2 separate regions of the Homo sapiens genome follow, and region 2 is linked to region 1. The links are contacts of gene promoters, found by promoter capture Hi-C in blood cells and fetal thymus (Javierre and others, 2016). All regions are on one chromosome and are shown on one strand. Each heading gives the region's core, a stretch centred on a gene start or on the middle of the fragment in contact. The rest is flanking DNA. Distances are from core to core; before and after follow the strand shown.

The links. The method cuts DNA at HindIII sites, captures the fragments that hold promoters and counts their contacts. A CHiCAGO score of 5 or more calls a contact.
Region 2: a contact is called between the fragment with the promoter of RETREG1 here and the fragment with the promoter of ATPSCKMT in region 1, in 3 of 17 cell types (naive CD8 T cells, total CD4 T cells and naive CD4 T cells). The highest score is 9.7, in naive CD8 T cells.

Annotation. Positions count from the first base shown.
Region 1 is chr5:10,246,748-10,251,406 of GRCh38, reverse strand. It overlaps ATPSCKMT (ATP synthase c subunit lysine N-methyltransferase), which reads left to right and starts at 1,519. Exons shown (of 5, transcript NM_199133.4): 1 at 1,519-1,549. The coding sequence starts at 1,534. It overlaps CCT5 (chaperonin containing TCP1 subunit 5), which reads right to left and starts at 1,127. Exons shown (of 11, transcript NM_012073.5): 1 at 962-1,127. The coding sequence starts at 1,066. RefSeq lists silencers at 1-199, 530-669, 740-809, 1,560-1,619, 1,630-1,749. The HindIII fragment of the contact is 6,282 bases long and covers 1,158-4,659 here.
Region 2 is chr5:16,615,200-16,619,713 of GRCh38, reverse strand. RETREG1 (reticulophagy regulator 1) reads left to right here and starts at 2,717. Exons shown (of 9, transcript NM_001034850.3): 1 at 2,717-3,062. The coding sequence starts at 2,743. It overlaps RETREG1-AS1 (RETREG1 antisense RNA 1), which reads right to left and starts at 3,788. Exons shown (of 4, transcript NR_109946.1): 1 at 3,228-3,788. RefSeq lists a silencer at 2,474-2,963. The HindIII fragment of the contact is 3,701 bases long and covers 1-3,410 here.

The DNA of each region.
Region 1 (4,659 bases), core at 270-2,769:
TCAGATGTTTCTTACCTGCACCCCTGCCCTGGTTTCTTTAACCCCTCTGGTCTTCCTTATTCCCTTCGGTCTATCTCAAGCTTTGCTGCCTGAAGTGCAGCTCTACTGAAATTCTGCTCAAAACCCCCTCAATGGCTCCCCTTCTTCCCCAAAGATAACGTCGTATTTTCCATGTTGGGCATTCAATAGCTTCCACCTTCGGGAACTATTGTAAGTTAAAGAAGTCAGTGCTCCATTAAAACCGGATGGCTCTTCCATTCTACAACGTGCCATGCGCATTCTTGCCCAAGCCTTTACTTCTACCGTTTCCTCTCCCTAGAATGCTACCTCTCACCCCGATCTAAAGCTGTCCTCCAGCACCACGCTTATGTGCACCCTCTCCGTAGCTGTCCTTCTCACTGCACACCACCTTGTATTACGGTTATGTGCGTCCGTTTTTCACTCTTCGCTATTTTTCCTCAAGGGTGGGCAAAAAAGCACTCAGAAATGAAATACCCTGTTAAGTGACCACACCTTTACGAGTGACAAAGAAAACGGAAGGGCCGTTGCGGGTGGACCAGCGAAAGGTTAAGCAGCAGCGCCTTAACCGACAGGTGACAGAGCATCTCCCCGGCGCCCTCCCACTGGAGCGCAGTCCCACGCGGCCGTCAGGCTGGAGGAGCCGGGCGGGGAGGCGGTCCCGCTTTGCTCCCGCGGGCGACCGGACTGAGCGGCCCCACCCAGCTCCGAAGGGCGCTGGCGGCCCAGCCTGGCTGGCCCCCACATTCCGAGCCCAGGATTAGGCGCCGGCGTCTCCCGAGCTCAGTAAGCGGGCTGAGCGGCCGGAGACCGCAGGGAGACGGAGATTCTCGACCTTTCCGGGGAGCACATGGCAGAGCCGCTCCTCAACTCGCGCAGGCGCAGAGCCACGGCCTCGGCCACCTCCCCTTAGCCCACCGCGAGCAGGTCCCTGTGCCATTACCTTGAGGGCCTCAAGTCCCATAAGACGGGACTTGCGGTCCTGATCCTTGATGATGAGGAAAGGGCGCCCATATTCATCGAAGGCGAGGGTCCCCATGGACGCCATGGTGCAACAACCGGAATTACTTCCCCCCAACCGGCGGAGACCGCTACGGAAGCGAGAATGCACTTCCCTTTCTCGGGAGGGCCCAAAAGCTTGCGCACGCGCAGCACAAGACGCGCGGGACTTATGTTTCTACTGAGACTAATTTCACGCCAGACAGTATCTTCTGGAATCGGCGGCCTTCGGGAACTTCTATTATCCAGGAAGCCGGGGAGGGGGAGGTTTGAAGACACTTAGTGGAAATCTTAGGACACACAAGTCAAGAGCAGATTGAATTTGTCATTTTTTAAAACGTTACCACTGATAGTTTCTCGATAGTGGGTCCCAAGGAGGAATTCATTGACTTAAAGCACTATTTCTTTATTTCTTCGCACTCCGGCTCCGAGAAGATGGTAGGACCCATTTCCGGTTTTTTTTTTTTTTTTTTTTTTTTTTTTTTTTTTTTTAAAAACGCTGTTGGAAATCTCGCGATGGAGGGAGGAGGAGGTGAGGCTGGAGCGGCTTGGCGGGTTCCTGGGGGCATGAGAAGGGGTGCGGGCGGGCCGGGGGCTCGCGGTCAGCTGAGGTCTCCACTGTCGAGGCGGTGACCGGGTGCGGGCGGCTGCTCTGGCCTCCAGCCTGGCCTTCGGTGACCAGAGCTCCTGGTCGCCGCGCGGTGCCCGCGCCGGTTCTGGCGATCCTTGTCGGCGGGCGCGTTTCCCCAGAGACTGTTCTAGGCTACTTAGTGCAAGTGACTCAGCCTTTGGCACGATCTTAAGGAATAGGGATAGTGGAGGCACACTGATGGATTGGAATCGCAGTTCTGCCGCTCTTCCTAGCTGTGGCTTTGAGGAAATCCCTTAACTTCTTTGTCCCTCGGGTTCCCTGTCTGCAAAGTGACGGTGGTAACAGTAGTGCCTACTCACAGGGCTGCTGTGAGATTCAAGGAGAACGGTGCCTGGCAAGCTGAACACAGTGTTGGTAAATAAATTAACATTTTGCACAAATGGTTCAGTAACTTGCCACTGGTATACAGCTAGTAAGAAACAGTTACACAGCCTGATGCAATGGGTCCCACACTCTTTTTTTTTTTTTTTTTTTTTGAGACAAGACTGTAGCCCGGGCTGGAGTGCAGTGGCGCGGTCTCGGCTCACTGCAGCCTCCGCCTCCCGGGTTCCAGTGATTCTCGTGCCTCAGCCTCCCAGGCAGCTGGGACTACAGGCACAGAACCACCACGCTCGCTAATTTTTGTATTTTTAGTAGAGACGGTGTTAACGCCGTAGTGGCCAGGCTGGTCTCGAACGGCTGACCTCAAGTGATGTACCCGTCTAGGTCTCCCCAAGTGTTGGGCCTGAGCCACCGCGGTGCCCGGCAGGTCTCACTCTTAAGCCCTGTATTATGCTGCCTCAGAAAGATCTTGGCAACCGCAGCTGTCCTCTAAATCTCTTATGCTGCCTTCCTCCCCGCCCTCCAAGATCATGACTTAATATTTGATAGGTTTAGATTTATTTGTTGAGGGTTTCCATCCTTGCTTCTCCCCTACTGCCATGGGCAGGGACTTAACTAATAAAGTTGTATTATTCCCAGACTTTATTAGGCACTCAATAAGTGCTGAAATGAATACATGCACTATAACATTTGACCCTGTCCTGAAACTCAAGAACAGACTTGGCGACTGTGTTCCCATCTACTCTGGGGCTGAGGCAGGAGGATGGGTGGAGCCCAGGAGTTCAGTTTACAGTGCGCTATAATCGCGCCACTGCACTCCATCCTGGGCGACAGAGCGAGATTCTGTCTCTAAAAACAGGGAGGACTGACTGTCATGGGATGGTTGGTGATCTGTTAACTCTTCATGCTTGGCATACTTACGCGCTAGACCTTGAAGTGTTCTTCAAGGACATTTTAGATTTTGGAGTCAGGTCTTATTTCACGTTAGCTTTGCCAATTCAGTGTTTCCTCATTAAAAATGGTGACTTCTGCAATTCATTTGGCTCCTTCGATTGTTGTGAAAAATAGAATGTCCTATGGCATCCTCTGTGTAGTTGATTCCCTGTCAAAACACTGGGGAGTGAGAGAGGATTTTTCCTAATATCAATAGCTCATGTATGTCAAAAGGACACAAATGACATTAGACTAGTATAAGAAAGGCTTCTTAAGGACATAAGAATATATGCTAAAGGGACATAACATATGCTGTAGTTATTAAACAGGTATGCACATACAAGTGCACAATGAACAGTCCTTATGAGTTGTGACATTCTGATATAAGCCCGCTTTAAACACGTGGCTAGTTACTATTCCTAACAGGCTCCTTCTCTCTTCTTGGCCTTTTTCTTTTGGCTTGAACTTGGATAAGAACCTTGGGTACCTTATTGTACATCTGTCACTGCCTCTAGCTTCAGCTGATCCAAATCTGCCACTAAAAATTGAAGTTTTCAACCAATATTAGAAGTCAATAAGCAAGCAGGGCCCGGACACAGTAGAAGTTAACCTCATTCTGTGTTTGACTTTAAAGGATGGACTACTAAGTGCTCAATGAAAGTAGCCAGTGGCCACTGCAGCCATTATTTAATAGAATGGCTCCTTGTTCCAAAGAACACCTGAAAGAAAGTTCTTGCCATTTATATATAGGATAGTCTGGGAGTCTGAACATGTTCCGTTAGAAGGATTTGTAGAAACAGTCTTGATTTTAGTTTTGAATATTCAGGGCCTGATTTTTACTGATAAGAATCAATACAGGTCCTGGCATGGAGGCACTTTAGGAGGCTGAGGCGAGAGAATTGCTTGAGCCCAGGAGTTTGAGACCAGCCTGGGCAACATAGGGAGACCCTGTCTCTAAAGAAAAAAATTTAAAAAATTAGCTGGGTGTGGTGGCATGTGCCTGTAGTCCCAGCTACCTGGGAGGCTGAAGTGGGAGGATCGTTTGAGCCTGAGAGGTCAAGGCTGTGGTGAGCTGTGATTGTGCTACTGCACTCCAGCCTGGACGACAGAGTGAGACCCCATCGCAAAAAGGAATCAATTGTTTTTCCTGAATGGAGCTAACAATGTAGTTCCTATATTGTACATCCTATATTGGATGTACATAGTAACTTCTTCCAAAGCTCCAGCAATGGGTATGGATCTTGATTTCCCCATGCAAATGTTTGTTACGTTGCAAGACTTGCAGGCATCAAAACCTGGGACAGAAAATAGAATGATTTCATCAAGAGACTCATTGCCCCTGTGTTGCCTTTCTTAAAAACACAAATATTATGGTGACTTTGCTCAAAAAGTTTCATCACAGTGCACATAGAATAAAATACACATTCAGCCTGGCCTTCAGAGGCCTGCCTTCCTGTTTGTCTCTCACTCTGTGCTCCAGAAAGGCTTTCCCTGCCTTCCACACCTTGGTTCCAAGGCTTGCTGCTTTTGGCTCCAGCTCAAATATTCTCTCTGCCAACACCTCACTGGTCCCATTGTTGGAATCAGTCTTTCCTCCGCCTCTCCCATATGCCTGTAGCGTTTTGTTTGTGTTATAGCATTTCTCACAACCAGCCCTGTGTCTGCCTCTCCTGGACCCCACCCCTCATCTGCCTAGATGGGAGGCCGTGAAGAACAGGAACTTTTTATTACATCTT
Region 2 (4,514 bases), core at 1,468-3,967, 6.4 Mb before region 1:
AGGGGACAAGGTTGATTTCAACCATTGTTAGCATTATGTTTCTGTAATCTTAGCCCTGAATAAATTACTCAAGCATCACAAAGATCATTAGACAAACAACAAAACAACAACAAAATCCCACCCAGCAGCACCATTTGTATGTCTATGCCAGTGTCTACTTCTGTCATACAGTTTGTAAGTATTAGAGGTCGGAGGTGAAAAGGAAAGGTTAATTAGCCCAGCCTTTTATGCAAAACAGGTTGCATAGCATTTTCTCCATAGTAATTTTGAGAGAGAGAGAAAGGATAGACTTTACAACACATAGCTGTGGGGAAGGAGGTTTATTATTAAACAGAGATAATAAATAAGTGTTGGAAACCACACACAGCAACTGGAGCTTAGCTTTTATGTGTCTTGGTTGCCAGCAGCTTTTACTACTTCAACAGATCCTGACAACAATAATTAGAATTCAAGGGAAGCAGGAGGAAGGTGATTAATCTTGCAAACCCATTTCTGGTAGCACATCAGCACTGGTCTGGGGAACGGGGACACCTGGTTCTTCCTCTCTCCTGCCCCATGTTCTCCACACTGGCTGCAGCACACATCTGTCTAGTGACAGATTTTAGAATAGCAAACCCTGGGCTGTATCAAGCGCCAAACAAAGGCCAAATGACACAATAAAAGCATCATTTATCTTTCAAAAACTTCTCCGCTACTGCCAAGAGGGAGGACCCACACCTGGGAAAAGATTGTCTCTCTTATATGGAAGAAACCTGAATTGTTTCCACGTTGCTTTTTCCTTGACACCCAGGCCACTTTCCATCGGGTTGTCAGGATACTCCTAAGAAGGGGAGTCGGAAATGCCAGATGTTCTGTATCACCTTTAGTTAAAAACCAAGCCTCCTGTTACTAGAGACCATTCAATGTCCACTATTCCCTTTGGTGAGTTACTTAAGGAACTGTGCGTCTCCACCTGCAACCCCATGCCTCCTCTCCTGTTGAATTCCCAACAGCAGTTATTGCCCCTGTCCCCAATCCCCACACTAATGGGGGCCCTACAATTTAGGGCAGAGGCCATTTATTACAAAACGCTCTTGAAACCTGATCCCTCCACTCCTCCCCTAATTTTGGATGCACAGTTTAAGTAAGGAATCTCTTAGCACTTAGCGAAGGCTTCTTCGCTGTGGCAGATATCACAATTGTAACTGGGCCCTCATCAGACTGGGAGCTTCCTGTGGGTGGAAGCTGCATCCACAGAGCTTAGCAATGCTTTGTGTACTCGGTAGGTGCTCAGTAAGCCTTTGCCTGGGCTCTGGGAATATAACTCCTTTGAAGTACAACATACAAGCAGTAAAGTGCAGACACCTGCAGTGAATGTACAGATCAATGGATTCCACGTGTGTATACACAGAGGTTTACAATGGCCACCCAGAGGAGCGTTACAGAACATTCCCCTAGAGACTCCCTTGACGCAGGGAATTTAATTGCCCTCCCTTCCATCCTGTGCAGGCAGGCTGGTTGCCAGTAAAGGGATATGAGATGCCCTGATGCATCCGCAGACAGAACCCTTAGTATGGGGGGGAAGGACCTGTCATTCTAGAGTAAAAGTAAGACCAGGAAGATTAAAGAAGACAAAAATTTAAAAATGCAAATGGTGAAAAGCATAAACAACTATTTTCCTCTCTCCCCACACTCACCCAGAAGCACCGGGGCCAAAGAGAGGGCATGGGAGGTCTCAGGATCCCCTGCCGCCCCACCACTGCCCTGATGCCCGCTTGTGACGCAGAGACCGGAGTGGCTCTGAAATTACTGTCTTCAAAGCAGGCCAAACCTTGCTTGACACGTGCAAAGTTCCAATCTCTTGCTTCTCAGCTCCCCGCACGCGCGGGCCAACGTGCACTTCTGAGCCAGATCACCTAGCCACAAGGAGGGGGAGAGAGGGGGAGATAGGAGGAGAGAGGGGAAGATAGGGGGAGAGACGGGGGAGAGAGAGGGAGAGGCAGAGAGAGAGAGAGAGACAGAGAAGAGAAAGGAAGCACCTGAGACAGAGAGAAAGAAGAGAGAGAAAGGAAGCAGCTTCCCCCAACGCTGCGGCCTTGTGTTTCCTCCCGTGTCAAACGAGAGGGCCCCAAATTGACCCCAAATGTTTTTTCTTCCTTTCTCAATCCAACATTTATACCAGCACGTTATTTCCAGGATGCCCAGGACCTCTGCTATGGTTGTGCTGCTGTCCCTGCAAAGGCGCTGGGGATGGCCGAGGTGGGGGATGTCTCTGGGGGCTGAAATACGCTGCCAGGGGAAGGGGCGCCCCGATACCACCCTCAGTGGCTGCTGGTTGGGCGACCGGTGGCCCTGGCTTGAGAAAGTGAAAATGTCCAATCTATTTTGCCTGGAGCCTTGGGTCTCTTTTGGATACGGAACCGAGCAGCAGTCCTCCACTTCGCCCTCTCCCGCCGCTGCAAGGGAAAAGGTCGTTTTCCTCGAGTCCCGGAGAGGCCCTCCAGGAACCCAGAGCCCCCCGGGGACACCGCCCAGCTCCCGGCGCCCGGCCCCGCCCCTGCGCGAACTCGGCCGCACCCACTTTCCCGGGCGGCTCCCCCTCCGTGGCCTGTGGCGTCACAAGGCCCCCAGCCGCCTGTGCCCCGCGGTGCGCGCCCCGCTCCGGGACCTGCCGCCACCGCCGCCCCGCCCTCGGCGGCACCCACACCCAGGCGCGCCCGCGCGCGCGCCCGGCCCCGTCCCTGTCTGGAAGCACAGCTGAAGATGGCGAGCCCGGCGCCTCCGGAGCACGCCGAGGAGGGATGCCCGGCTCCTGCCGCCGAGGAGCAGGCGCCGCCGTCGCCGCCACCGCCCCAGGCATCCCCCGCAGAGCGGCAGCAGCAGGAGGAGGAAGCGCAGGAAGCTGGGGCGGCGGAGGGCGCGGGGTTGCAGGTGGAGGAGGCCGCGGGCCGGGCGGCGGCCGCGGTAACCTGGCTGCTCGGGGAGCCGGTGCTGTGGCTGGGCTGCCGCGCCGACGAGCTGCTGAGCTGGAAGAGGCCGCTGCGGAGCCTGCTCGGCTTCGTCGCTGCCAACCTGCTGTTCTGGTGAGAGCTTGGGCAAGGTGGGGGCGCTGAGGAGGGCAGGTGACCTTGGGGCGCCCGGGGCCCCGGGGACCCAGTGCAGGGGGAGCCCGCGGGACACTGCGGAGGAAGAATTGTCAGCCCTGCCCCACTTTCTCGGCCACCTGTCTCGAACAGGTAGACACTCACCGCAACTTTCCTCCGGACGCACGTCCCTGTGAGCAGTTGTCGTTCTCCGTGTGCGGATCCAGCCTCAGATGCGAGGTGGTCGGCCGACCCTCAGGCACCTGCACCTACAGGTGTTCCCATCGTGCTTGAAAACTTCGCCCCTGCTTTCTAAAACTCTGAGGTCTTGACCTGCTCGCCCAAGCTTGCCGGAGCAAACGTGCTTGAACGTGTCTTGGTTCTTGCAGCCCCAGCAGGCATATCTGGACCAGATTAGGTACCCGTTCAAAACGGTGCCGCATTCATCAGTCACCTGAGATGGGCCCTGAATGATTTGTTTTTTCCTTCCCCTGGAGCGTTAGGTTTACTGTGTTTACTCCCTGATGAGAAAACGGGAGGCAAACAAGCAGGTGGAGTATGCCCAGCACCCACCCCCGGGTGTGCACAGTGTGGAAAACAGGCATATTTTTAGGTGAAGTACAGGGAGAACACACGGGAATGCTCAGCCCCTGAGCAACAGGTTTGTCTCTCCAAAAAGCGCTCTTCAGAAAGGCCAGGGAAATGTCTGTCTCCTTCGTTGAAAGTGGTGTCCTGTCATCCGTTACCACGCTATTGAGGGCGGAGAAAAACCTTCTTTGTTTGCTAAGTGTCCTCATAACAAACATGACCTACACAGTGCAGAATAATCAGACTCCGGTAACAGATACCTTGTTACAGGACAGAGATTTCTGAACCTTAAAGTTGAGAAATAAATAAATTGCACAAAATAGACAGCCTGTCATTTTCTAGGTTAACTTGAGCAAGATGAATATTTTCCTCAGATCTCTGCTAGTCCTGGTGTTTTCTCTTAAAACTAGCTGTATCTTGTCGGAGGTCCCTGAAAGTGAATTAACTTTGGATCTCTTAGGTATCTGTGTTTGGAATAGAGTTTATTCCAAATCTATCTTATTATGGAGTGAATGCGAGCACTCAAATAAGAAGGACATATTGTCTTATGCTAGATTGGGCAATAGTCTAATAGTCTTAGGGCTGTGTCTCACTAATGTTTACGATGTTTTTAACATTTTATTTCTTTTTCTTTTCTTTCTTTCTTTCTTTTTTTTTTTTTTTTGAGATGGAGTCTCACTCTGTCGCCCAGGCTGGAGTGCAGTGGCGCGATCTCGGCTCGCTGCAAGCTCTGCCTCCCGGGTTCACGCCATTCTCCTGCCTCAGCCTCCCGAGTAGCTGGGACTACAGGCGCCCGCCACCACGCCTGGCCAGTTTTTTGTATTTTTTTTAGTAGAGACGGGGTTTCACCGTGTTAGCCAGGAT